Regions from separate parts of the Homo sapiens genome. Here all the other regions are linked to region 7. The links are contacts of gene promoters, found by promoter capture Hi-C in blood cells and fetal thymus (Javierre and others, 2016). All regions are on one chromosome and are shown on one strand. The core of a region is centred on a gene start or on the middle of the fragment in contact, and the rest is flanking DNA. Distances in the headings are between cores, read along the strand shown.

Evidence for each region. The method cuts DNA at HindIII sites, captures the fragments that hold promoters and counts their contacts. A CHiCAGO score of 5 or more calls a contact.
Region 1: a fragment that was not itself captured here is called in contact with the fragment with the promoter of WASHC5-AS1 in region 7 in 1 of 17 cell types (neutrophils); the score reaches 5.4 in neutrophils.
Region 2: a fragment that was not itself captured here is called in contact with the fragment with the promoter of WASHC5-AS1 in region 7 in 1 of 17 cell types (neutrophils); the score reaches 6.3 in neutrophils.
Region 3: a contact is called between a fragment that was not itself captured here and the fragment with the promoter of WASHC5-AS1 in region 7, in 1 of 17 cell types (neutrophils). The highest score is 7.9, in neutrophils.
Region 4: a fragment that was not itself captured here is called in contact with the fragment with the promoter of WASHC5-AS1 in region 7 in 1 of 17 cell types (monocytes); the score reaches 5.7 in monocytes.
Region 5: a fragment that was not itself captured here is called in contact with the fragment with the promoter of WASHC5-AS1 in region 7 in 10 of 17 cell types (M1 macrophages, erythroblasts, M2 macrophages and 7 more); the score reaches 15.8 in M1 macrophages.
Region 6: a fragment that was not itself captured here is called in contact with the fragment with the promoter of WASHC5-AS1 in region 7 in 7 of 17 cell types (erythroblasts, M1 macrophages, M2 macrophages and 4 more); the score reaches 10.5 in erythroblasts.

The regions. Positions count from the first base shown.
Region 1 is chr8:125,634,478-125,637,745 of GRCh38, forward strand. All of the region lies in intron 5 of LINC02964 (long intergenic non-protein coding RNA 2964), which reads left to right. Among named protein-coding and RNA genes, the nearest start is that of LINC02964, 120 kb to the left of the region's middle. RefSeq lists an enhancer at 2,282-2,391. The HindIII fragment of the contact is 7,632 bases long and covers 1-3,268 here.
Region 2 is chr8:125,651,856-125,655,258 of GRCh38, forward strand. All of the region lies in intron 6 of LINC02964 (long intergenic non-protein coding RNA 2964), which reads left to right. Among named protein-coding and RNA genes, the nearest start is that of LINC02964, 130 kb to the left of the region's middle. RefSeq lists an enhancer at 3,246-3,403. The HindIII fragment of the contact is 4,038 bases long and covers 1-3,403 here.
Region 3 is chr8:125,690,363-125,693,677 of GRCh38, forward strand. No RefSeq gene overlaps it. Among named protein-coding and RNA genes, the nearest start is that of LINC02964, 170 kb to the left of the region's middle. The HindIII fragment of the contact is 6,595 bases long and covers 1-3,315 here.
Region 4 is chr8:124,467,391-124,470,857 of GRCh38, forward strand. It overlaps RNF139-DT (RNF139 divergent transcript), which reads right to left. Exons shown (of 2, transcript NR_108047.1): 2 at 1-268. Among named protein-coding and RNA genes, the nearest start is that of RNF139-DT, 5.4 kb to the right of the region's middle. The HindIII fragment of the contact is 3,127 bases long and covers 339-3,465 here.
Region 5 is chr8:124,508,835-124,512,350 of GRCh38, forward strand. The region is part of intron 6 of TATDN1 (TatD DNase domain containing 1); the gene reads right to left. Among named protein-coding and RNA genes, the nearest start is that of MIR6844, 2.0 kb to the left of the region's middle. The HindIII fragment of the contact is 1,769 bases long and covers 578-2,346 here.
Region 6 is chr8:124,487,539-124,491,238 of GRCh38, forward strand. It overlaps RNF139 (ring finger protein 139), which reads left to right. Exons shown (of 2, transcript NM_007218.4): 2 at 1-1,080. The coding sequence ends at 106. It overlaps TATDN1 (TatD DNase domain containing 1), which reads right to left. Exons shown (of 12, transcript NM_032026.4): 12 at 960-1,158. The coding sequence ends at 1,056. Among named protein-coding and RNA genes, the nearest start is that of RNF139, 15 kb to the left of the region's middle. The HindIII fragment of the contact is 1,041 bases long and covers 1,272-2,312 here.
Region 7 is chr8:125,039,344-125,042,791 of GRCh38, forward strand. WASHC5-AS1 (WASHC5 antisense RNA 1) reads left to right here and starts at 1,341. Exons shown (of 2, transcript NR_170219.1): 1 at 1,341-1,436. It overlaps WASHC5 (WASH complex subunit 5), which reads right to left. Exons shown (of 29, transcript NM_014846.4): 24 at 452-555. The HindIII fragment of the contact is 6,314 bases long and covers 1-2,772 here.

The DNA.
Region 1 (3,268 bases), core at 56-2,555, 600 kb after region 7:
AGGAAGTGGAGGCTGCAGTGAACCATGATCACACAACTGCACTCCAGCCAGAGTGACAGAGCAAGACCACCCACACCCTCTCTATATTTAACAGAAACTTCTCTGTTGTAAATGTAAGCCCAACTCCCTTGTGAGTAACAACAAGTTACTGTAAATATAAATATGTGATTATGAAAATAAAAAACTGTGTGCATCCTAAAGAAATGTAAGGATACAGATACATAAAGTGTTAATTACACACAGTGCAACTGGAGTAATGTGTAAAGTGCCTTGAGATCAGTATTTGCATGTGGTGTGTTGGAAAAGACACAGGCTTTGAGGCTGGACACTTGGGTTTTGATTCCAGCTCTGCCACTCACTGTGTAACCTTGGATAAGTTTCTTAACCTCTCTGAACTTTGGTTTTCCCATTTAGATAAGGGAGAATGATAACTTCATGTCCTTCCAGTGGTGTATGTACCACACTTTGGAAAGCCCTGAAAGAGCGGATGCAGTCAGTGCTTGGGGAGCATGTGCAGGTGCTGAGATCCATGTGCAGCATGTTGATGTGCATGCAGCAACTGATTTTGATTTAATCCAAGCCTTCGGGACATTTTGCAGATGAAGCAGCCACGGATTAAGGAGAGATTAAGTGACTTTCCCAAAGTCCCTAGCCAGGAAACAGTGGAAATGGGGATCAAAGTGGATCATTGGACCCCAGACCCAATATATTTGGTATGATTGACAGCATTAAGCACACGGTGGTGGCCAAGAAAGTTTTTGAATGAGGAAAGCAACTGCAGAGAGGTGGCATGCGACAGCTGAAGGAACGCCGATGAGAATGCCGACGTAAGAGTTCTAGAATGTCTGTTCGAATCAGTGGCTCTCCAATGGTGGTCATGAAGCTGCAGGTGGCTGGGCTGCAGGAACTCTCTCCCTTCCTCCTGAGGGTAGGTTGAGGGACTCATCTGATGGATGTTTAGTTTTTCCATTTTTCCTTTCTCAAGAGCAGGTCCTTCCCCCACCTTTTAAATTGTGATTTTGAGTAAGATTCCACCGGGGAGAGAAGAAAATATCTCTCTCTTCTCTCTCTCTCTCTCTCTCTCTCTATATATATATGTATACACACACACACACAAATTTATAAAAATATATATTATGTAATATATATTTATATATTATATATTTATATTATATATAAATATACAAAACATATAACTTTTTATATATATAAAAAATTTTTTTTGGTAAAAGCAGGTTCGAAGAGTTTTGTTTTAGGTGACCTTTAAGGTCTCCACTAAATCTCATTGGTTTTATAATTGGAGTGTGGGCATTTCTGCTTCATGGTTATATAGTGTTGGAGAAGTCGGTCAGCATTCTATCTTCACTCCTTCATCTGTAAAATGGGCATGAGGAGACAAACACCACTCACTTTGCAGAGTTATCATGTGAACGTGCCCTAAGAAGAGCAAAGGATTCTGCAAAAGCATGGTATTAGTGAATTGGTGTCATCATCAACTATTTCTTCCATGGCATCTCCGAGTTGCATTCTGGGAAGTGCTGGAGATATAGAGAACCACCAGACACAGAGTCTGGTGGGAAATAAAGAAGCATGGGTTGACAGTCTCCTGGGATATAGGTAAATGACCTAGCAGTTTCAATGGGGAAATGATGAGTGCCCCTAGGTAAGCATGGTGGAGGGTCACAGACCCTGCCTGGGGCTGGGGGTGACAGGGAGACAGTGGGAGTTGTAGGAAAGTGACATCTGGCATGGATATTCAAGGAGGAGCAAAAATAATAATTACATTGAGTCTATATGTATATATTTTATTCACACACAGTTTTGTGCATCCAAAATTAAGACTTGTAATCTTTCACTTCTCCTTTTGTGCAAGGATCTTATAGAGACAAAAGTAAATGCAAAGAGTATCATTGGGCCAATGTTGTGAACTTTGTTAATGACTTTTGCTCCACCCTTTTTGTCAACAAACAGAATTCAACCAACAAATGTGCTAGGGTCCGTTCTCTTGAGAAAACTTAACACACTTCCAGAACCATCAACTGTGAGAGCCTAGAGGGCCCCCTGAATATGTCCTGTCCAATATGTACACGGATAAGAAAATCTGGAACCTAGAGAGGTGAGGTGTCTTTACCAAGGCCAGTAAGTATAGGAGTCAGGTTGAGATCTGGGGGCTTATTGGGTATCACAGGCTCCAGGGACTTCAGAGTGGGAGCAGCGGTGTGTGCAGAGGCCAGGCCTAGAGGTCTGTAGTCTGAGGGCCAGGGTTGAAGTCCATCACTAATTTCATCCAACAATGGTTGCATGTGTATATGTCAGTTAATAAGCTGTAGGCTGAGGGTATAGAGAGAAATAAACCATTTTCCTTGCTTTAAGACACAGGTACATAAAGTGTTAATTACACACAGTGCAACTGGAGTAATGTGCAAAGTTCTTTGAGATCAGTATTTGCATGTGGTGTATTGGAAAAGACACAGGCTTTGAGGCCGGACACCTGGGTTTTGATTCCAGCTCTACCACTCGCTGTGTAACCTTGAACAAGTTTCTTAACCTCTCTGAACTTCCGTTTTCTTATCTAGACAAAGGAGAATGATAACCCACCTATCAGCATTGATGAATAAAGAGTAAATAAGATACCACTGGTAAAGGGCGTGGGTCAATAACCTAGGACTATCATCACCAAGTGCAAGGGCTTGGGCGAGACATTCAACCTCTTCAACCTTCTGGGAGCTTTGAATGCTCTCACCATACAATGAGGTGATGGAAGTGAAATGTGCTTCGTAAAACTGTGATACGTTGAGCAAATCACTTTTGGGATTATTAGCCGGTCCTCATTAGCATATGAAAGGCAAGGTGGCAGGGCGGTTGTCAAAGTCCAGTGGGTTCTGTGGGTCGGAAGCCAGGCCAGTCTCTCTGATTTTATGCCTCTTTCACCCACTGCCCTTTTAGCCTCCAGTCATTTCCCTTCCATCACCTGAAACCTAACTGCATTGTGGACCAGAACCTGTAGATCTTAGGCTTGGTTTCTATTAGTAAAGCCCTTCTCCTGGGAGAGGGACTTACCATCAGGCCTGAGAAAGAAGTCAGGCGTGCTTGGAATGCAATTGCAAAAGAGGTTACAAGAGCCTGTGAGAATGCCGAAATCAAGTGATGTCGAGAGGTTTTGTTATTTTTGAAAAAATGACTCATTCTGAGAAACCCTGACAGCCTCAGAACATTCACCTAGTTGCTTGCATGCATAACCCGGAGCCCACTGCAGAGGAAAACAAAT
Region 2 (3,403 bases), core at 664-3,163, 610 kb after region 7:
AATGCAAATGTCACAAGAATTTCTAAGGTAAAAATATGTGACTGCAAAGAAATTGTATAGTTGGTGGTGGTGAGCTGTATTTGTGCCTTCTAGTGGTGGAATGGGAGGGTATGAGATGAGGGTATTCTGGCAGAGAATGTGACAGTTGCTAAAGTTAAGGCAGAGACTCTTATTGTGGCACCTACTTCAAGGTGGCCTCTATGATCCTTACCTCCCGGTGTTCATGCTGTTGTATAATCTCCTTCTGTCGATTGCCTGAGGAACTGTGACTTGCTCCTAGCCCACAGAATATGGCAAGGGGGATGGAATGTCACTCTTGTGATTGAGTTATGTTATATCAGATTCTGTATCAGAGACTCTCCTTGTGGGCTGGATGAAACAAGCAACCATGTTGGGGAGGCCTGCATGATGGGGAACTGTGGGGGCCTCTAGGACCTGAGGACGGCTTCTAGCCAACAGTCAGAAAAAAGCCAGGACCCTCACTAAGAGAGCCACAAGGAAATGAATTCTGCCAACAACCTGAATGAGCTTGGAAGTTGATTTTTCCCCAGTTAAGTTTCCAGATGAGGATGCAGCCTGCCCGATACTTGAGCCATAGCCAGATGAGACCCTAATTGGAAAACCCACTTAAGCCATGCGAAACTCCTAACCCGCAGAAATTGTGAGAAAATAAATGACTGTTGTTTTAAACTTCTACGTTTGTGGCAATGTGTTACACGGCAATAGAAAAAAAAAAAAATCGAAAACCAAAAAGAAAATACATCCACTATAAGGCACATGTGAAAATTTAAAAAACACTCAAGATACAGCACATTAGGTGAAATAATTTTGTTTAAAAATTGTCTTTGGGCTGGGCGTGGTGGCTCATGTCTGTAATCCTAGCACTTTGGGAGGCTGAGGCGGGCAGATCACCTGAGGTCAGGAGTTCGAAACCAACCTGGCCAACATGATGAAACCCATCTCTACTAAAAATACAAAAAAATTAGCCAGACGTGGTGGCAGGTGCCTGTAGTCTCAGCTACTTAGGAGGCTGAGACAGGAGAATCACTTGAACCTGGGAGGTGGAGGTTGCAGTGACCAAAGATTGCGCTGCTGCACTCCAGCCTGGGCAACAATGAGACTCCGTCTAAAACAACAACAACAACAACAGCAACAACCAAAACAACAAAACTGTTTTTATAGATTCCAAATACTTACACATTTTTCAGGACAAAACTCCCAAAGTTAAATTTAAAAAGTCTTAGTGGAAAATAGGCTTACTGGAGCCCTCTTAGCCAGTGTTTTAAACATGTAACATCTGCAGAGCTAAGTAAAGGGCACCCTTTTTGATGGAGATGAGGTGTACATCTAGGATGAGAAGGACACTCATTGAATAAGTTATTGAGAACATGCCTTGCCTCAGGTAAGCAAATATTTTCTGAGGATCATGCAGGAAAAAAATTACAGAGTACTCTGATCTATTTTTTGCCTTTAAGTTTGGGAGCTGGAAGGAAAAGGATCAAAGAGTATAGTAGTAAGTTGACATTGAATGAACCAATGAACAGCTCCATCTTGGCCCTGAGGAGTCTAATTAATTGGTTTTGGAGAGCTTCACACTAGCTGGCTATGGGCTCTTGTAGGACTCACTTCATATTTATGGCTGGGGATAATATGAGGTGAGTGAGGCACTAACTTTGGGTGCTAAATTTAAGGGATGCTGAAAACCTCAGTAATCAAGATAAATTAAATTTTAAAGCAATGATTTAAAATTCAAAATCACTGCCAAAAGATGATGAACAAATTGTCAAACTTTTAAATAAAGACTGGCTCTAGCCTTGGATTTGTACAACCTGACTTCATTGGTCTCATCGTAATCCTGGCCCCTAACAGGCAATAAAGCCCTTGGAAAACCCAGGAATAAGGTGGAAGTCTTCAATACCTGGGAGATTATGGGAACGCAGGAGTTTGGGGTGTGATTGGAAAAAGTCCTGGAAGATTTCAGTGGTAGTTGTTCTGTTGAGAGAGAGCACTACGCTCTGTTGAGAGAGAGCACTACAAGCAAGAGGTTTCATGCTTGTCAGTTTTGTTCCATATTGTATTTCAGTGCCAATGTCTATTTAATATAGTTGTATTAGTTAAATTATTTATGCCGTTTTTAAAGAAAGGCTATTTTTATTGAATTATTTTTATTTTTATTTTTTTGGTTTGGGCTTTCCCAAAAGCAGATCCCAGACAAGGACTTGGGTGCCAGCAGTTAATTTGGAGGTGATACTAGGAGGCTCTGGTAGGGGAGTGAGGAAGGGAGTCAAGGAAGGCAGGAGGCCGCCAGTAAAGGGTGCATGACTGAGTAGCTGCTGCTGCACTCATCTGAGACTCAACTGTGCTGAGAACTCCATTGAGAAACAGAATGGGACATATCTCAGAATTGTCCACTTGGGGCTGAGGCCACTAGGGCATTTATCTACTAATGCTTGTCCTTTATTAGTTGGAAGCATTATCTCCCTGGTCTGCCCTGAGAGAGGGCCAAGTGCATTCCTGTGGCAGATAAAGACCACAGTCCAAGAGATGTAGGAACTTAGAGTAAGAAGGTGGAGGAGTATACAGGAGCTGTCACCCAACTGCAGGTGACCTGTGGGATGTGCTAATGGGATGAGCACAGAACAGTGATGTGCATGTAGTGCAGCCATAATATTCAAAAAGAATAACAGCCTATAATAGGACATGCCTCTTCAAGCACATTGGATGACCAGGGCTCATTTGGAGGGATGGTCTTCCAGGTCAGGAGACACTGTGCAACTCAAGGATGCTGTTGGAGTCACAACCAAAGAAGTATATGTCATCTTGCAACTGGGAACTAGCCTTTGGCCTTTCTTTGTTGGCTACCTTTAGTTGGTTGGATGCTGGACCTGTTGATGACCAGACAGCAGTGACAAGACTAAGAAGGCCCAAGGCAGGGCTCCAGAGGAGATTCTGAAGCCATCACAAGCTAGACCCATCTCTGAGACTCTTAGAGTCTTCCTATAACAAGTATCCTTTGCACTAAGGGTAATTACCTCCTCTGTAAAACATGGCAGGTGGTTGAGATTAAGAGTAAAAATAAATTTCCTTGGCCTGGAAGGGAGGGAACTGGTTAAATATTAAGATTTGACTTAATTCCTTAGTAGCCAGACTGTGAACAGAAAGAAAACATAGAATTACATTTTGTACTTGGGTCACTTGTATAATCAGTGTGATTAATAATTGCTAATGTTTTTTATTGATGACTACATGTTAGGCACTGTACCATATACTTTACATTCCAGACCTCACTGAATCCTTCCAACAACACAGTAAGAGAGGTAGCCTACATATTTCCAATTCACATATGTGGGATCTGAGACTCAGAGAGGTTAAGTAACTTGCAAATGTCCTGGGAATAGTGAGG
Region 3 (3,315 bases), core at 61-2,560, 650 kb after region 7:
TTGGCGTAACATAACCTCTTTAAATCGATCCCTAATTCTGAATATTTAGATTTTATATATATATATATATATATATATATATATATATATATATTTTTTTTTTTTTTTTTTTTTTTTTTTTTTGCATTTTTCGGTAGAGACAAATTCTTACTTTATTGTCCAGGCTGGTCTCAAACTCCTGGGCTCAAGTGATCCTTCTGCCTTTGCCTCCCAAAATCCTCAATTATAGGCATGAGTCACTGTAGCCGGCCTATTTCTAATTTTTGTTAGTATAGATTACACTTTTTTTGTTGTTGTTGTTGAGATGGAGTCTTGCTCTGTTGCCCAGGCTGGAGTGCAGTGGCACCATTTCGGCTCACCACAACCTCCGCCTCCTGGGTTCAAGCGAGTCTCCTGCCTCAGTCTCCTGAGTAGCTGGGATTACAGGTGTGTGCCACCATGCCTAGCTAATTTTTGTATTTTTAGTAGAGACAGGGTTTCACTATGTTGGCCAGGCTGGTCTCAAACTCCTGACCTTGTGATCTGTCCACCTCAGCCTCCCAAAGTGCTGGGATTACAGGCGTGAGCCACTGCGCCTGGCCCTGGATTACACTTTTAAAACAATATATTTACAGATATTTTTATACAACTGTATAGGAACCTTTATATAATTTTCCTAATATTTGCTTTGAAGAGATTCCTTAACTTTTTTTTTTTTGAGTTAAAAGAAATGAACATTTCGAAGATTCTTTATACATCTCATCTTCACAACTTGTTTTAAACCTCTTCCATAGCTTCAAGCTATGGTCCTGCTTTCTGGTTCTATTCTTCATCTTACTCCCTGGATGCGATGCCTTCATGTTCTTGGCCTCCTTTCCTGACACTATCTACGCACCTGTTTGTTATTCTGGGCTATAAATTTCCCAACCAAATCTGGCTTAGCTCTAGGTCCTGCTGGAATTATCTTCACTCCTCTTGTGGGAAATTGGATGGGAAGGAGAAATTGGACTCCTTCGTGAAAATTCCCTCCACATATTCATCCAGTAAAAATGTATGAAATGCCCAGTGCCTGGCACTTCTGGAATTCTCTCCAAAGATGCCATCCTGTTCCCACACTGTCATGGGAACAATAAAGGGAACCGTGTGGCCTCCTGCCATCTGCGTGTCTCCATCCCAGGGCGAATGCTTGATTAGTGGGGTGGTACTGCAGGCCCGGATCCTCAGGAGTCATCACTTTTCTTCTTGCCACAACTCTTCTTTTGCTCAACAGTGCCTTAATGGCTCAGTCACTTAAGAGTGCAGTCACTTAATAGCCCTTTCTATCAATTTTCCCATCTGCAGAATGGGGACTGTGATTCTGGGCTGACCGGGTGTTGTGAGCATTAATGAATGTTTTGAGGCATGTTGAGATCTGTAGATAAACAAACCTCAAGAAGTACAAAGTGCTAATGAGCCTGTTGCTGAGCAGCTCGCTTTGAGAGACTGCTTTCTTTCCCACAGAGGAGGAATCAGTTCCTAATCCCTGGGCACAGATGTTTTCCAGCTGCTTTTGGATGAACCAAAACAGTGGATTCCAAAGGGAATTTTCCCTGGACACATGCAGCTCTCAGGTTAATGGAAACCTCAGAATTAAGTCTAAAGCAACACCAGAGTAACTCCCAAGTTAGTTTGCCCGGTGACAGCACCACTTGGTAGAGTTTCTTGGCACTTTCTGCAACAGTGTTTGCCTGAGTGTGGAATGTATACTACTGATGACACACAGATGCCTTTGATGGTGCGTGGATGAACTTTTAATAACTTTTCACAGTTATGCATTTTTTGGTGGTTATTTTCTATCTGTAGCAAGTGATACTATTTATTTATTTATTTATTTAATTATTTGTCACAACAAGAATAACTGACATTTGGGCTGGGTGTGGTGGCTCACGCCTGTAATCCCAGCACTTTGGGAGGCCGAGGCAGATGGATCATGAGGTCAAGAGATCGAGACCATCCTGGCCAACACGGTGAAACACTATCTCTACTAAAAATACAACAATTAGCTGGGCATGGTGGTGCACACCTGCAGTCCCAGCTATTTGGGAGGCTGAGGCAGGAGAATTGCTTGAACTCAGTAGGTGGAGGTTGCAGTGAGCCGAGATCGCGCCACTGCTCTCCAGCGTGGGTGACAGAATGAGACTCCATCTCAAAAAAAAAAAAAAAGAATATCTCACATTTACTGAGGGCTTACTTTGTCCTGGGTACTGTTGTAAGTGCTTTACAGCAAAGCATTTAATCATCACAACAGCCTTATCTTTAGATATTCTTATTATCCCCTTTGTACACATGGGGATGTTGACACACAGAAACTTTAAGGAGTCTTACAAACTGTCTAAATTTACATAGCTGGCAAACAGTGGAGATGGGGTTTCTATCAGACAATTTTGGCTCCAGGGCCCATGTTCCTGTTAAACAGCCTGTCATATTTCCTTTCAATATATTTGCATTTGTGGTACTGGTATAAAGGATATTTAAAAACAGATTATTTAAAGTTACAAAAGCATGTTGATTGGAATAAAAATGATGTATAAAATCTGAGTTAAAAATAATGAGATGGTTTGAAGATATGGTGGATATTGTGATGTTGGAATCAATGACTGAAGGGCAGTGCGCCCTAGCGGGTGGCCTGGTGACCACCGGGGCCACTATTCTCTAGAAGCTGGTTAAAAATCCAGATCTATGGGCTCTCTGTGGGTGCAGTCCAAGGATCTGTATTTATAAACAAAGGCCTCAGGGCATTTCCATATCATGAAGCTGTGACACACCTGTTTCCCAACCCCCAATCCCTATCTGGGCATAAGACAAACAACAACAACGACAACTGCTGATTGGTTGGGTGTTCCACTGGGTTATCACTCTTTTGGCCTCATGTCAGGGAAAGGCAGAAGAGAAGGGACAGAGAGCTACTCTTTAGATTGCTAGACACAGGCCTTATCCTAATCCTCACATTGAGGAAGGTGTGCTTAGGCCCATTTTACAGACAAGGAAACTGAAGGTGAAAGAGGGTAAGTGACTTGGCAAGTGGTGGGGCCAAGAGTCAGACCTGGGCATGTAGCGTTCATCAGCCGAGCACTTTCCATTGTACCAGCCCTCTGAGGCCAGGCATTCAGAGTTAGCGCATCCCCAGACAAGCTGAAAGGGGGCCCAAGTCAGGGCAGTGAGCTTGCATTTGGAGAACTGCGCTAACTCTTAGTGCTGGAATTTAAAGCATGGTGTGATCTCGGCTCACTGTAACCTCCCAGGTTCAAGTGATTCTCCTGCCTCAGCCTCTGGAGTAGTTGGGATTACAGGTACCCG
Region 4 (3,467 bases), core at 652-3,151, 570 kb before region 7:
TCCTTTAAACTTTAACTTGCTGAGGTTTCCCGGTTCAAGGTCCTTGTGCTAGGAGACCAGCAGGCAAGGAAGAGTCACCATGTTAGTTGGGGTAAATGAATCCAATCATCAGGAGGAAATAGCGTTATTGCTACACGATGATGGCAGGAAGGAATATACCTGTAGTTTACACTCAAGACCATATAGTGGTCTCTTGATATGTCCCAATATCAAGTAAAGTGGACAACTTCCAAAACAGCAGGGTAAACATCTCCAAATACTGGCTTCTCTATAAAAGCAATGAGAACACAGGCAAAAATGGTCAGTCAACTTTTTCAGAACTCTAGAAAGTAACTAAAAGCTTGAAATAATCTGAGGTGCCTCTATTTGAGAAAAACAGCTAAATCTTGGTAAACAGGGAAGCATTTTAACTTGCCTTATTCCCAGCCCCCACCTCTTAATACAATGATAAATAGTAATGGTGACAGTGAGCAACCTTCTTACTCTTAACTTTAGGGAGAATGCTTCCAGCATGTTTCACCATTAAGTGATATGCTGTCCTTTGTTAAGCAGTATCCAGAGTCCTATTATATTGTTGGCTTATCATGTTTCCCACTGCACTCTAGTGTCACTTTTCTAATGAATCAAGTGACCCTATATGTGTGGAGTTTTTCTAGACTTTCTGTTCTGTTCTGTTCCATGGGTCAGTTTTTCTATCCATGCACCAATACTATCTCGTCTTCATTACTATAGCTTAGAATAGGTCCTGATGTCTCACAGTATAAATCCTTCAACTTTGTTTTTTAAGACTGCCTTAGGTATTCTTGACCTTTTCCAGTTTCTTAGGAATTTTAAAATTGGCTTTTTGATTTTTGGAAAAAAGAACCTGCTGAGATTTTTTTTTAATTGAGATTACATAGAATATATAGGTCAACATCTTTACAATACTGAATCTTCCATCTTGAAGTTTTATTATATCCAGTTGGGTGTAACTGTGAAATGAGAAGCAATTATCAGAAACCCGGATTACAGGATCCCACCTAAGGTGAAAGGTCCTATACTTCCCATCAGTGGGATACTATAGCCATCTTCTCTGGGCTCTCTGCTTTGACAGATGTTTTCAACTTAAGTATTACCTGTATTCTTCCTCTCAGCAGTATCTCAGTCCTCAGATTATGCTTGACCGTCACCGAAGATGAACATATTTTATCATTCACTCATATTCTAATGTAAATTAAGTCCTACTTATTTCATACAATAATTCGAACTAATATCTTCACAGCACTCCTGAGTCATAAATGGAGTCACTGCAAAGTGCTGTGCACTGCAAAGTGCTGTGTGTAGTAACAGGGGTTCCAATGAGTGTATCTCCTACAATTGGTTTACTACATGCTATACTAGGTATTTAAGATGTATTGCTTTAATTCTTGTAAAAAAGCAAGAGAACATACTTGCAGAGGATCAGATCTTAGGCTCTGGAATCAGAAAAATATGAATCAGAAACCTGGCTCTGCCACTACTATTGACTGATTAGTTCTGTGTCCTTGGACAAGTTTGGTGAGGGCTAAATTGGATAGTGCATGTCATGTATTTCATATCTTATGTGGCAATATTCTTTTCCCCAAATGATACTAAAGATTAGACAGCTTAAATACTTTGCCTCAAGACACAGAACTAGAAAGAGGCAGAAGAGGGCTAGCATACTGCCAAGCACATAGAAAGTATTCAGTAAATGTCTGCTGAATGAACAAACCACAGTCAGTATATACTCAACATTTACTTCAAATACCACTATATTCTCTGTTGTTTCCTTTAACTTATGCAACAAACTTAAAATATTTTTTATTTCCATAGGTTTTTGGGGAACAGGTAGTATTTGGTTTCACAGGTAAGTTCTTTAGTGGTGATTTGTGAGATTTTGGTCTACCCATCACCCAAGCAGTATACACTGAACCCAATTTGTAGTCTTTTATCCCTTACCCTCTTCCCACCCTTTCCCCGAGTCCCCAAATTCTATCATGTCATTCTTATGCCTTTGCATTTTCATAGCTTAGCTCCCACTTATGAGAACATATGATATTTGGTTTTCCATTCCTGAGTTACTTCACCTAGAATAATAGTCTCCTATCTCATTCAGGTCGCTGCGAATGCCATTAATTCATTCCTTTTTATGGCTGAGTAGTATTCTGTCATATATTTATACCACAGTTTCTTTATCCACTCATTGATTGATAGGCATTTGGGTTGGTTCCACATTTTTGCAATTACGAAGTGTGCTGCTATAAACATGCATGTCCAAGTATCTTTTTCATGTAATGACTTCTTTTCCTCTGGGTAGATAACCCAGTAGTGGGAATCCTGGATCAAATGGTAATTCTAGTTTTAGTTCTTTAAGGAGTCTCCACACTGTTTTCCATAGTGGTTGTACTAGTTTACATTCCCACTTCTACATACACAGCAGTGTAGAAGTAGCAAAAACAAACTCTTACTATTTATTTGGCATCTACAAAACCAGAAAATTCAAATAGAATTTTGATGGGCACATCTGAATTTACTTTAATGAGAAGAGAAAAACCATAAAGTAATTTAGGATAAGAGATCAATTGCAGTAATTCCCAGGGTCTGAGAAAAAGTTATGGCATATATTTTCACCATCAATCCTACTTGCTTTGGTTGGAATGTGTCCCCCAAATTGCATGCATTGGAAACTTAATCCCCAATATGGCAGTACTGAAAGGTGGGGCCTTTAAGAAGTGATTGGGTCATGAGGGCTGGTGATCCATTCATGGACTAATGGGTTGATAGATTAATGGGTTACTATAAGAGTGGGATTGGTGGCTTTTTTTTTTTTTTTTTTTTTTTGAGACAGACTCTTGCTCTGTTGCCCAGGCTGGAGTGCAGTGGTGTGATCTCGGCTTACTGCAACCTCTGCCTCCCTGGTTCAAGCGATTCTCCTGCCTCAGCCTCCCACCACGCCAGGCTAATTTTTTGTATTTTTAGTAGAGATGGGGTTTCACCACGTTGGCCAGGCTTGTCTCAAACTCCTGACCTTAGGTGATCCACCCACCTCGGCCTCCCAAAGTGCTGGGATTACAGGCGTGAGCCACCGTGCCTGGCCTGGGACTGGTGGCTTCATAAAAAGAGGAAGAAAGGCCTGAGTGGGCATGCTCAGCCCCCCTGATCCCTGCAGTCCCCACCAGCAACAAGATTCTCCCCAGATGTGGTCCCTCCACCTTGAAATTCTCAGCCTCCTCCCTAACTGCCAGAAATGAATTCCTTTTCTTTATAAATTACCCAGTTTCAGGCATTCTGTTATAAACCACAGAATACAGACTAGGACACTACCCTTCCTACCAGTATCCCTATCTTCCACTTGAAGAAAATACATATTAGTAGAAGTGGGGAGTGAAGGGGTTAAATCCAAGTGCATGTTTCCTACTGCCTCCTCCCACTACAGAAGCTAGGGTGCAGATACATGATCCAATAAG
Region 5 (3,516 bases), core at 212-2,711, 530 kb before region 7:
GCTTATCAAAGGGCTTTTATAACTTACAACTTCTGGAAAGAAATACTTCATTTTCTGGGCTTACAAAATTATCTGGGCCCTTTAATTTTCAGAAAGTAACACCACTGGCCCCTTGCCACTGGGAGCACCATCAGTGGGAGTCAACTCACCAAGCGAGAAGCCCAGGAGAGCTTCATACTGCATGCTAATCTATTCCATTTTGCAACCAGTTTTTTATGTGCTGTTATAAAAGAAGTTATTGCCACTGGGCAAAATGAACAAGGTTTCCCTCAAAAATGAAATCTAAGTATTTGCTAAACAGCAAATAACTCAATTATGCTATTAAAAAAAGAAAATTACATGATAAAGTGGTAGCCCTGAATATCTTAAAGAGTACTTGATAAGAAGGTTTTTCCAAGTACCAGATACCATTGTCTCATTTGATCCTCAAAATAACCTGAGTATAAAAGCTGGTGTCAGAGAGGTGTAGTACTTTGTCCAAGATAACAATACCTGGCATGGCCAACTTGGAACAGAACTTCACTGCTCTAATTCCAAGTCCCAGCCTAAACGACAAAAACCTGTTACGTTTTCAAGAAGCTTCCTTCTGGTCCCGGAGTATAATGACAATATTCAGAGGATACAACGAATGTTCATTCTGTTTGTCTTTTCACTTCAACACAGTGCTCCCCCTTGTTCTCACAAATGGTAGGTTCAACTGAATCAGGATAACAGGTGGCTTATTATTTTCTTAAATGTGCTTACCTCTTCTAAGCACTTTAATTTGGGGAAACAATTTCTCTGTTTAACTTAAGCCTCTCTTGCTATATTTTTCTATATCATATTTCCTGATGTGCAGGACTATTTTACCCCCTTTGCTCTCTTGAAAATGCTAAATTTTAAAATTAGAAATAGAAATGTACTTCTTAAGAAGCAGTCTTCAGGCCGGGCGTGGTGGCTCACACCTGTAATGCCAGCACTTTGGGAGGCCAAGGCGGGTGGATCACTCAAGGGCAGGAGTTCAAGACCAGCCTGGCCAGCATGGTGAAACCTCGTCTCTACTAAATATACAAAAATTAGCCGGCATGTTGGCACATGCCTGTAATCCCAGCTATTCGGCAGGCATGAGAATCTCTTGAACCCAGGGTCAGAGGTTGCAGTGAGCTGAGATTGTACCACTGCACTCCAGCCTGGGTGAGAGAGCAACATTCTGTCTCAAAAAAAAAAAAAAAAATTAAAAATTAAAAAAATAGAAATAGTCTTCCTAAAATAGGTCGTCTATGTCTGTATTACCAAATGTTTGGGTTTTAAAATCTCCTTTTCAGATTCTGCTGGGTTAGAATAAGCAAAAATATTTTCCTTTCATTAACAAAGTGCTGAAATTTTGCAGTGTAGGAAATATTAACGACAACTTGGACAAAAAGAGATTTTGATAATATAACCAGTCACTATTTCCATAACCTCTAAAGTAAACCAAATGTCAGCAGTTAAGTGTGCACTAGTCATTATGTCAACTTTACTAATATATTTGGCTCTGACTACACACAGCAGGCGGTACTCTTCATTGTGTGCACTGCTCCACGCTGTACTGGTTATTTTTTCCACACACAATTCCATGGACCAAACCACATGACCAAGCTACAAATTCACAGTATCTAATGGTCGGATGGAAAATTAGCTTCCTATAGGAATGTAGGCAAAAGTACAGTTTATGAAAATAACAGAGGCCAGCTGGGTGTGTGGTTCAGGCCTGTAATCCCAGCACTTTGGGAGGCTGAGGTGGGTGGATTGCTTGAGCTCAGGAGTTCGAGACCAACCTGGGCAACATGGTGAAACCCCATCTCTACAAAAAATACAAGAATTAGCCAGGTGTGGTAGCATATGCCTACAGTCTCAGTTCTTGGGAGGCTGAGGTGGGAGGATTGCTTGAGCCTGGCGAGGTCAAGGCTGCGGTGAGCCATGATCACACCACTGCACTCCAGCTTGGATGACAGAGTGAGACCCTGTCTCAAAGAAAAAAGAAAAAGAAAATAACAGAAGCCCAAGCAATGGGCCCACAGAATTTTACATAATTCAAGAAAAGAAAGGTCCCTGAAGTCATGCTAGCTACGTATCATAAAGAAGCCATGTGGTAAAAAAAATTATTCCTAATGATACAAATTGAGGATAACTAGTACTGAACATCAAACGACTATTATCTTTAGAGAAGAAAAACCCGCCATGGTAACTAGAAATAACTGTATAAGTTACAGGGTAGGAATTGGCATCTATTAAGAGACTTCTCTGCCTGTTTTACTCACTTATTATTTTTTTAAAGTTCATAAATGAAAATAATTTTCCACTTGAGTTATTTGCTCATCTTAGTGAAGCTTCTGATTTTATTACTGCTTCTTACAGTTGAGGTTTAACTATCTAACGACAAGAGCTGGAAAAGTTCAGCTTCAGGAGCAGTTGTTATTAATTAGGATCAAGGCAAATCCAAAAAGCCCAGTGAGTTTCATGGGTATACCTCAACACAAGTAGTAATCCCTCCTCTGTAAGCTGCTTGATGGCAACATGGCCTCAATTGCTCATCTCTAGGGTCCCCTAAATCCCCAAAGGATTGTTTTAAAATCTTCTTGTTGTAGTTTTTAAGACCTGCACAGTGTTAACATTTTAAAGCCCCAAGAAAAATGCCCAAAGCAAATTCCTCCTACCCAAGAGAACAGAGCTCTAAATTGCAACAAGGAAAGGAGTGTAGCATAAGGCCAGGAAATTGAAAATACAGGGTATGGCTTAAAGGATAAACTTTCCATAAGTAGATCAGGCCTTTCCTTGTTTTCACTCTTTGCTTCTCTTTCTTAGTCTTTAAAAAATACTTTTTCCAGAAAAGGTCTAGGTACTAAAACAAGAAAAAAGTATTAAAAAAAAAAACTTTTAAAAGTTCCAAACAAAAACAATAGCTAGCATCTTCCTTTAGGGTGGTAATTATTTCTAGTATGAGGAATGTAACAACAGCCATGATTGTGCACATACTCTGCATGACTCATGTCACTATGGGCTTTATGTGCCTTATGTTAAGAAAGGTAGGCAGCAATCTCCCCATTTTAAAGGGGATGCACAAAGGGATGAAGTGACACCAAAGGCAGTTGTAAATCTCACCCAAAGATCTGCTGATTCCAAAGCTCATCCTTTTAACATGGTCATACACCGCCTTCACTTACCATTATTTTTCAGACACTACATCTATTGTATATTAATTTTTCTGTCTTGCCCCCTAATTTTCTATTTTTCTTTTCTCATACATCTCCTTTTTCCTGACTACATATTTACTTAAAAACAAATCATGGCCGGGTGCAGTGGCTCATGCCTGTAACCCTAGCACTTTGGGAGGCCGTGGTGGGCGGATCACTTGAGGTCTGGAGTTCGAAACCAGCCTGGCCAACATGGTGAAACTCTGTCTCTACTAAAAATACAAAAAAATTAGCCAGGCATGCTGATGGGCACCTGTAATCCCAGCTACTTGGGAGGCTGAGGCAGGAGAATTGCTTGAACCTG
Region 6 (3,700 bases), core at 542-3,041, 550 kb before region 7:
CGAAGATGACAGTACAGATTGTGATGATGATGTTCAAAGAGAAAGAAATGGAGTGATTCAGCACACAGGCGCAGCAGCTGAAGAATTTAATGATGATACTGACTGATGAAAATAGCATTTATTAATGATTGAGGTATTTGTTTAAAATTCAGTTCATCCAAAATGGAGTAATATCCTTCACCTTCAGTGTGTAACCAAGCACAAAAACAGTATCAATGTTGAATCTGTGAATGGTTTTCCGTTTACTGTGATGTGCTACTGTAAATATACCTCTTTAATTACTTCTGGTCTCTTTGGTGACCTGTTTAAATTTGTGTACATTATTGTACATAGAATAAAATGTTTTCACATTTTTATGACAAAATTTGAACAAATAGCTTTTTAATAGATGTAATGATCATATGGTGCGTCACCTGTGCCAAATATTCTTCAATGAAATTATATAATGTAACTTTGGACCTCAGTTTTTCTTTAGAAATGGGTGGGAGAATGAAAATGCAAATCAGGAAACCACATTAAAGTCAAGGAAATAAAATAATTTGACCAGAGGATAAAGGACATGAGAGAGTATTTTAAAACTAAAGAAAAAATTAGCTGCCAGAAGCAACTGAGGACCTTTTTTGAAACTTGAGTAGCAGTGTAATTGAGCTGAGTTTGAAAGTCCTGATTCAGAGAGAGACTGAGGGTTGACAAATAAACTGTATCAACTAAACTTTGATATAAACCAGAATGTGCTAAATGTTTTTTATGTAAAATTGTATATTTGTTAGCCATTCTGTGTCTGCAGTATTGTCATAAAATTGTCCTTTCATTCTTTTGAAGATATTACAAAACAAAAATAGTTTTTTTTAAATTGTTTTAAACTAAGATACTCAATGATATAAAAACATCCTGATCTGATTTTACGAGAAAAAGAAGGGGAATGGTGGGGAATGGTGTGTACCGATATATAGTATTTCTTTAGACAACTTGCAGATAATTTCTTTATTGAAACTATCAGGAAGTTTTACTATGAAATTTTACATACATGATGGAAAGTGGAAGACATATACCAATTATATTCCAGGAAAAAATACTTTAATAGTATTGTTATATAGTGTATTGGCTAATTCCAGTGGATCCTCATCTCTCACTGCTGACATTATCTCCAATATTTGACTAAAACAAAACAAAAACAAAAATGGTTAAATCTCCAAGTATACATTTAGTTCTAAAGCTATATAATATTTTTCCACACAAAGGAAAATATTGGCACACCTTTAATATAATAAAGCTTAACAGTTATTAAGTTTTTCAGCAATATCAATAGAAAAACTTACTGCCAGTAACTGGAAACAGATTTATGGACTGTCTTGCATATAACTAGAGCTAAGAACCAGGTTCAAGTAAATTATTAAAGCAGCCATCTGTATTATGTTCACCAATTATAGCATTAACTGAGTGGAAATGAAGAGTCCTTTTCAATTGTGAGTCATAGCATGTTCATTAGTGGGTCATGATGAGCATTTTAAACATTGACAAGTACATTGTACTCAATAAGGGTAAGTACTGTTCCATTTTTTGTTAGGTTTTATTATGTATGTGTGTCCTAAGTCACAACGTAATTTGTACTGTGGGACAGCAGCCACAGTTGGAAATCTACTGCTAGAGAACTAGTCCTTGAGAGACAGCAAATGAAGGTATTAGGTTGCTGCAAAAGTAATATTTACTTGGAAAAATGTGTGGTTATTGAGGGCGAGGGCTTTCTGTACCTCTACCCTTGCGAGAGAAATAAGCCCAGGTGTCCATCCTTCAGTTTCTTTCTTTCTCTGTCTCTCTCTTCCTTCCCTTCCCTCCCTTCCTTTCCTTTCTTTTTCTTTCCTTTCTTTTTTTTTTCTTTTTTCTTTCTTTTTTGAGACGGCGTCTTACTCTGTTGCTCAGGCTGGAGTGCAGTGGCACGATCTCGGCTCACTGCAACCTCTGCCGCCTGGGTTCAAGTGATTCTCCTGCCTCAGCCTCCTGAGTAGCTGGGATTACAGGCACCTGCCATCACACCCAGCTAATTTTTGTATTTTTAGTAGAGACGGGGTTTCACTATGTTGGCTGGCCGTGGTCTTGAACTCCTGACCTTGTGATCCACCCCACCTGGGCCTCCCAAAGTGCTGGGATTACAGGTGTGAGCCACCGCGCCTGGCCGCATCTTTCAGTTTCTGTGCTTACAGTAATGATGATCCGTAGTGTCTCCATACTTATTATATATAAGTGGAAGATTTTTAATACATGAATTAGAAAGTTCCAAAGTCCAAATTGAACATTTAAATATTCTTTGCCTAAGCTTTTTGTTCCCTTAGTATCTTAAATGTTAACACCTAAAGGAATTAAGGATGGAGATCTAAGATTAATGGGAATTTAAAAAATTGTTTTGTAATGTGACACAAAAGCCTTGCTTGATGTTTATACTAAGCAAACACTACACTAAAATTTTATCTGACAGTCAAGATACACTAAAAGCAAATCTATTAACATTTAAATTAAGACAGTGAAAATCCATTTTTCTTAGGAAACTACTGAATGTCCCTCTGTATGCACTTCTCAGAATTGGAACTCTTGATTAATGCTGCTGATGACACAGTTTTGAAGGTCACAGCAGCTTTGCTAAGATTATATTGCATAGCAAATTCATTTTATTGAAATCGCTTATAAGAAATCTATTGGGCTGGGCCCAGTGGCTCATGCCTGTAATCACAGCACTTTGGGAGGCTGAGGCAGGCAGATTGAACTCAAGAGTTCGAGACCAGTGTGGGCAATATGGTGAAACCCTATTTCTAGTAAAACAAAAAAAATTAGCCAGGCATGGTGGTGGACGCCTGTAGTCCCAGCTACTCGGGAGGCTGAGGCAGGAGAATTGCTTGAACCTGGGAGGTGGAGGTTGCAGTGAGCTGAGATTGTGCCACTGCGCTCCAGCCTGGGCAACAGAGCGAGACTCTCTCTCCAAAAAAAAGAAAAAAGAAAAAAAAATCTATTGGAGCTTAGGACATCCTATTTTACTGTTTGATAATGCAGTTTATGGAAATCTTTCTTCGAATAACCCTTCTGTAGCCAAGCCATGCTATTTCCATACATCTTCAGTGGTCAAAGCTGCAGTTATTCCAAAATGAATATAAAGTTGTTTAATGTCCCTGAGAATTTAGTGGCTTTTGTTTAATGTGGCACTTTTACAGTAAGCACAGGTTTTTGTTTTTTTTTTTTGAGAGAGTCTTACACTGTGGCCCAAGCTGGAGTGCAGTGGTGTGATCTTGGCTCACTGTGTGTGATCACACAGTGGTGTGATCTTGGCTCACTACAACCTCTGCCTCTCAGATTCAAGTGATTCTCCTGCCTCAGCCTCCCAAGTAGCTGGGATTACAGGCGCCCACCACCATGCCCGGCTATTTTTTTGTATTTTTAGTAGAGACAGGGTTTCTCCACGTTGGCCAGGCTGGTTTTGAACTCCTGACCTCAACTGATCTGCCTGCCTCGGCCTCCCAAAATGGTAGGATTACAGGTGTGAGCCACTGTGCCCAGCCAGGCAAAGGTTTTTAAAGTCTTGCAAGATCTACATGATTCCTACCCTATCTCCTTTCCAGCCCTTCCCCATACTGATACAAGTTATAGCTTTAAAAAAAATAATTGCCACTCTCCTGCTTAAAATCCTTTGGGTAGTGATAAAATCTAAGCAAAA
Region 7 (3,448 bases), core at 91-2,590:
AGGCCTCCATAACCACTCTTGGTAATCAACACACTTCCAACTGCCCTCTGGATGATGAGTGATCAGCCCTGTAAAAAGCCAGTTGCGGATTTTGGTAATAATTGCTTTCTAAAATCTGTGCAAGTATCTAGCAGTGTCTGGTGTGTCTCTCACTCGCTCTCTCTAATGAATTCATTTGTTCAGCAGACATGTATTGAATCATGTGATCAGTACCTGTCTGCTGAATACACGAATCCATTAGAGAGAGTGAGTGAGAGACAGAGATAAACGGAGGGACAATACTGAGGAAAGAGGCTCCGAAGACAGATTTGATTATCCGTGGCAAGGAAGCCTGTAAATTCAGACCTTCCACCCAAAAATAACTTAAAAGAGTAAGAACTGAAGAAACTGGGGTGCGTAGATAATAAACAATCCAAGCCCACGGATGGCTGTTTCAAACCCTGGCACTTACTTATTGAGATTCTCCAGAGCAGCTGCCAGATGTTTAGAATCAAACCGACAAGAATAATTTAATTCATTGGCAATCTGTTGTCTCAGAATCTGCATCTGCCCAACCTGTGCACAAGCAAGAGAAAGAACAGGTAGTGCATTCAAGCATTTCAGAGTGACAGTGAGGAGGTAAACACAAAGATGACAATTCTTCACTGGGCCTTCACATCACTCTACAGGAAAAAAAATAAGGATTTCCTGAACTGATCTCTTGGCTAAGACCAGCACTGGATCTAATGAAGCACCAGAGGCCCTTCAAGGAATGTCTGGATGGATTCCCATACCCCAACCTAAAAATACCCCAAAGTCTATGATTCACAAAGTGATCTATTAATGTTCAGTTGTTCATGTATCAAAGATGTCTTTTTTGAAGCTATATTTTTAACCTTTTGGAATAAGTGCTCCAAATTTAGTAGCTGCTGTGAGAAGTCTTACTTACTTCCTTTTATTTATCCTAAATGGAACTTTCTCAAGCTCTAGGAATGCCATTTCACACTAGTATTCTCAAATTGGGTGAATATTAAGTCTGTCCATGCCACTCAGGATTATAGGTTCTATAATTATCTGGATTACAAAATAATCTACATAAAATCTTTCACGAAAATTTTAACAATGATAGCCCCTTAATCCAGGGTTCTTAATTTTTTTTGTGTGTCTGATATGGTTTGGCTGTGCCCCCACCCAAATTTCATCTTGAATTGTAGTTCCCATAATCCCCATGTGTCATGGGAGGGACCCAGTGGGAGGTAATTGAATTATGGGGGTGGTTACCTCCATACTGTTCTCGTAATAGTGGATGAGTTCTCACGAGATCTGATGGTTTTATAAGAGGCTTTTCTCCTTTTGATTATATTTCTCTTTCCTGTTGCCATGTGAAGAAGGACATGTTTGCTTCCACTTCCACCATGGTTGTAAGTTTCCTGAGGCCTCCACAGCCATGCTGAACTGTGAGTCAATCGAACCTCTTTCCTTTATAAATTACCCAGTCTTGAGTATGTCTTTATTATGTGAGAATTGACTAATATAGCCTTGGACCCCTTTGGGAATCTGGTGAAGCCTATGGACACCATTTCAGAATAACGTTTTTGAATGTACAAAATAAAACATAGAGGGTAACAGTGGAAGCCAGTTGTAATGAAATATAATTAACCATTCAAAGAACAAATCTGTGATATAGAGTTATGCTAGGATGGTGTATTAACTACAGTACTTTAAAAGTAGCTATGAGCATAAATGATACTTGGAGATTATCTGCAATGGTTGGATGATAGGAAGCGATCTTTGGGTCAGGCTTGAGAGTTCAGTTTGCCCTCATAATGTTGTCTGCATCATAAGGTCAACAGCACACTCTAACTTTTTCTGCCTATAAATGTCTTCTTTTCTACTCGGACAAAGTATTCCTAAAAGACTGGCAAAGGGGAGTGAGGGAGGTGGGGAGAGGAGGGAAGACAGTATTATAATGCAAGCAGCAATAAGGTGGAAATAAATGCATTTCCTCTGAGTTGCTGGGGGCAGAGAAGAGTTAAGGAAAAGACAGGGGCTCACGCCTGCAATCCCAGCACTTTGGGAGGCCGAGGCAGGCTGATCGCTTGAGGCTAGGAGTTCGAGACCAAGCCTGGCCAAAATGGTAAAACTCTGTTTCTACTAAAAATAAAAAAATTAGCTGGGTATGGTGGTGGACACCTGTAATCCCAGATACTTGGAAGGCTGAGGTATGAGAAACACTTGAACCCAGGAGGTAGAGGTTGCAGTGAGCCAAGATTGTGCCACTGCACTCCAGCCCAGGCGACAGAGTGAGACTGTCTCAAAAAAAAAAGAAAAGGAGGGTGGCCTTCTCTAAGAATGAGCAAAAGTTACTTAGCTAAATGGAGCTTGTAATGGTCAAAAGTATTAAATGACCTCAGATGTATTATTTTTGACCACTATTCATACAAGACTATTACTCTATTTATGTGAAAAACGTCAATCCAAAAATGCTATTTATAAATAGGAAGTGTTTGAATTTATAGAGTAGCATTATTTAAAAATTAGAATGCAGCAAATCCAAGAAAATAGTAGGTTCTTTCAGGCCACATAAAAATGTCCCTGAAACCCTGTATCTGGCCCATATAATTCTTTGCTTAATTTTCTATGTGTAGTATACTCTGTGTCAAGGATCCTCTTGAAAATATCAATCTAGAACTGGAAATAGAAATAAAGTCAGTTTAATATAACTTGCTCTCGTTTACTGCACAATGAATCTTTGTTAGTGACATTTTCTATTTTTGGTACTCACGCACTTCAAGCTTTAATAAGCTGCTGAAGAGGCTAAGGAGCCTGGGATGGATGAGAAACTTATTCTACCTACTCATTTGCCTCTTTGGAGATATCTGGCTTATCACTCTTTCTCCAAGATTTTTCTAGAGTTGCACTATTGAGTACAGCAGCTCCTAGCGATGTGTGGCTATTTATATTTAAATTAATATGAAATAAAATTAAAAATTGCATTTCACTGTCCCACAACCCACATTTCATGAGCTCAATAGCTACACAGGGCTAGGAGCTGCTGTCATCATCGAATAGCACAGAACATTTCCATTGTTGTTCCAGATTATTAACACTGGCTCCGTGACTGTACGCACCCTAATTCAAGACAAAAAGACAAATTTGTCCTTTGGGGCTTTATTTAAAGATCACTGACTCGGTCACAGTCACGTGGCTGTTACTGAATTACTGGCAACTATAACCAATAGTTGGAATAGCTACTGGACTGAGAACCCTCCAGTAAGCAAGGGGAAAACCTTCCAGTTTCTTGGAAGAATCCCTGTAATCCCCCTAACGCCTCCTACAGAGTTGGGACTCACACCTGTCCAAACTCGGGTGATTCTTTATTCCTCCTAAAGGGTTTTCCAGCAATTAGAAACTTGGCCTGGGAAGCGCTTAATATCTGACAATCATGAGGCTAGGGGAAGGCAGACCC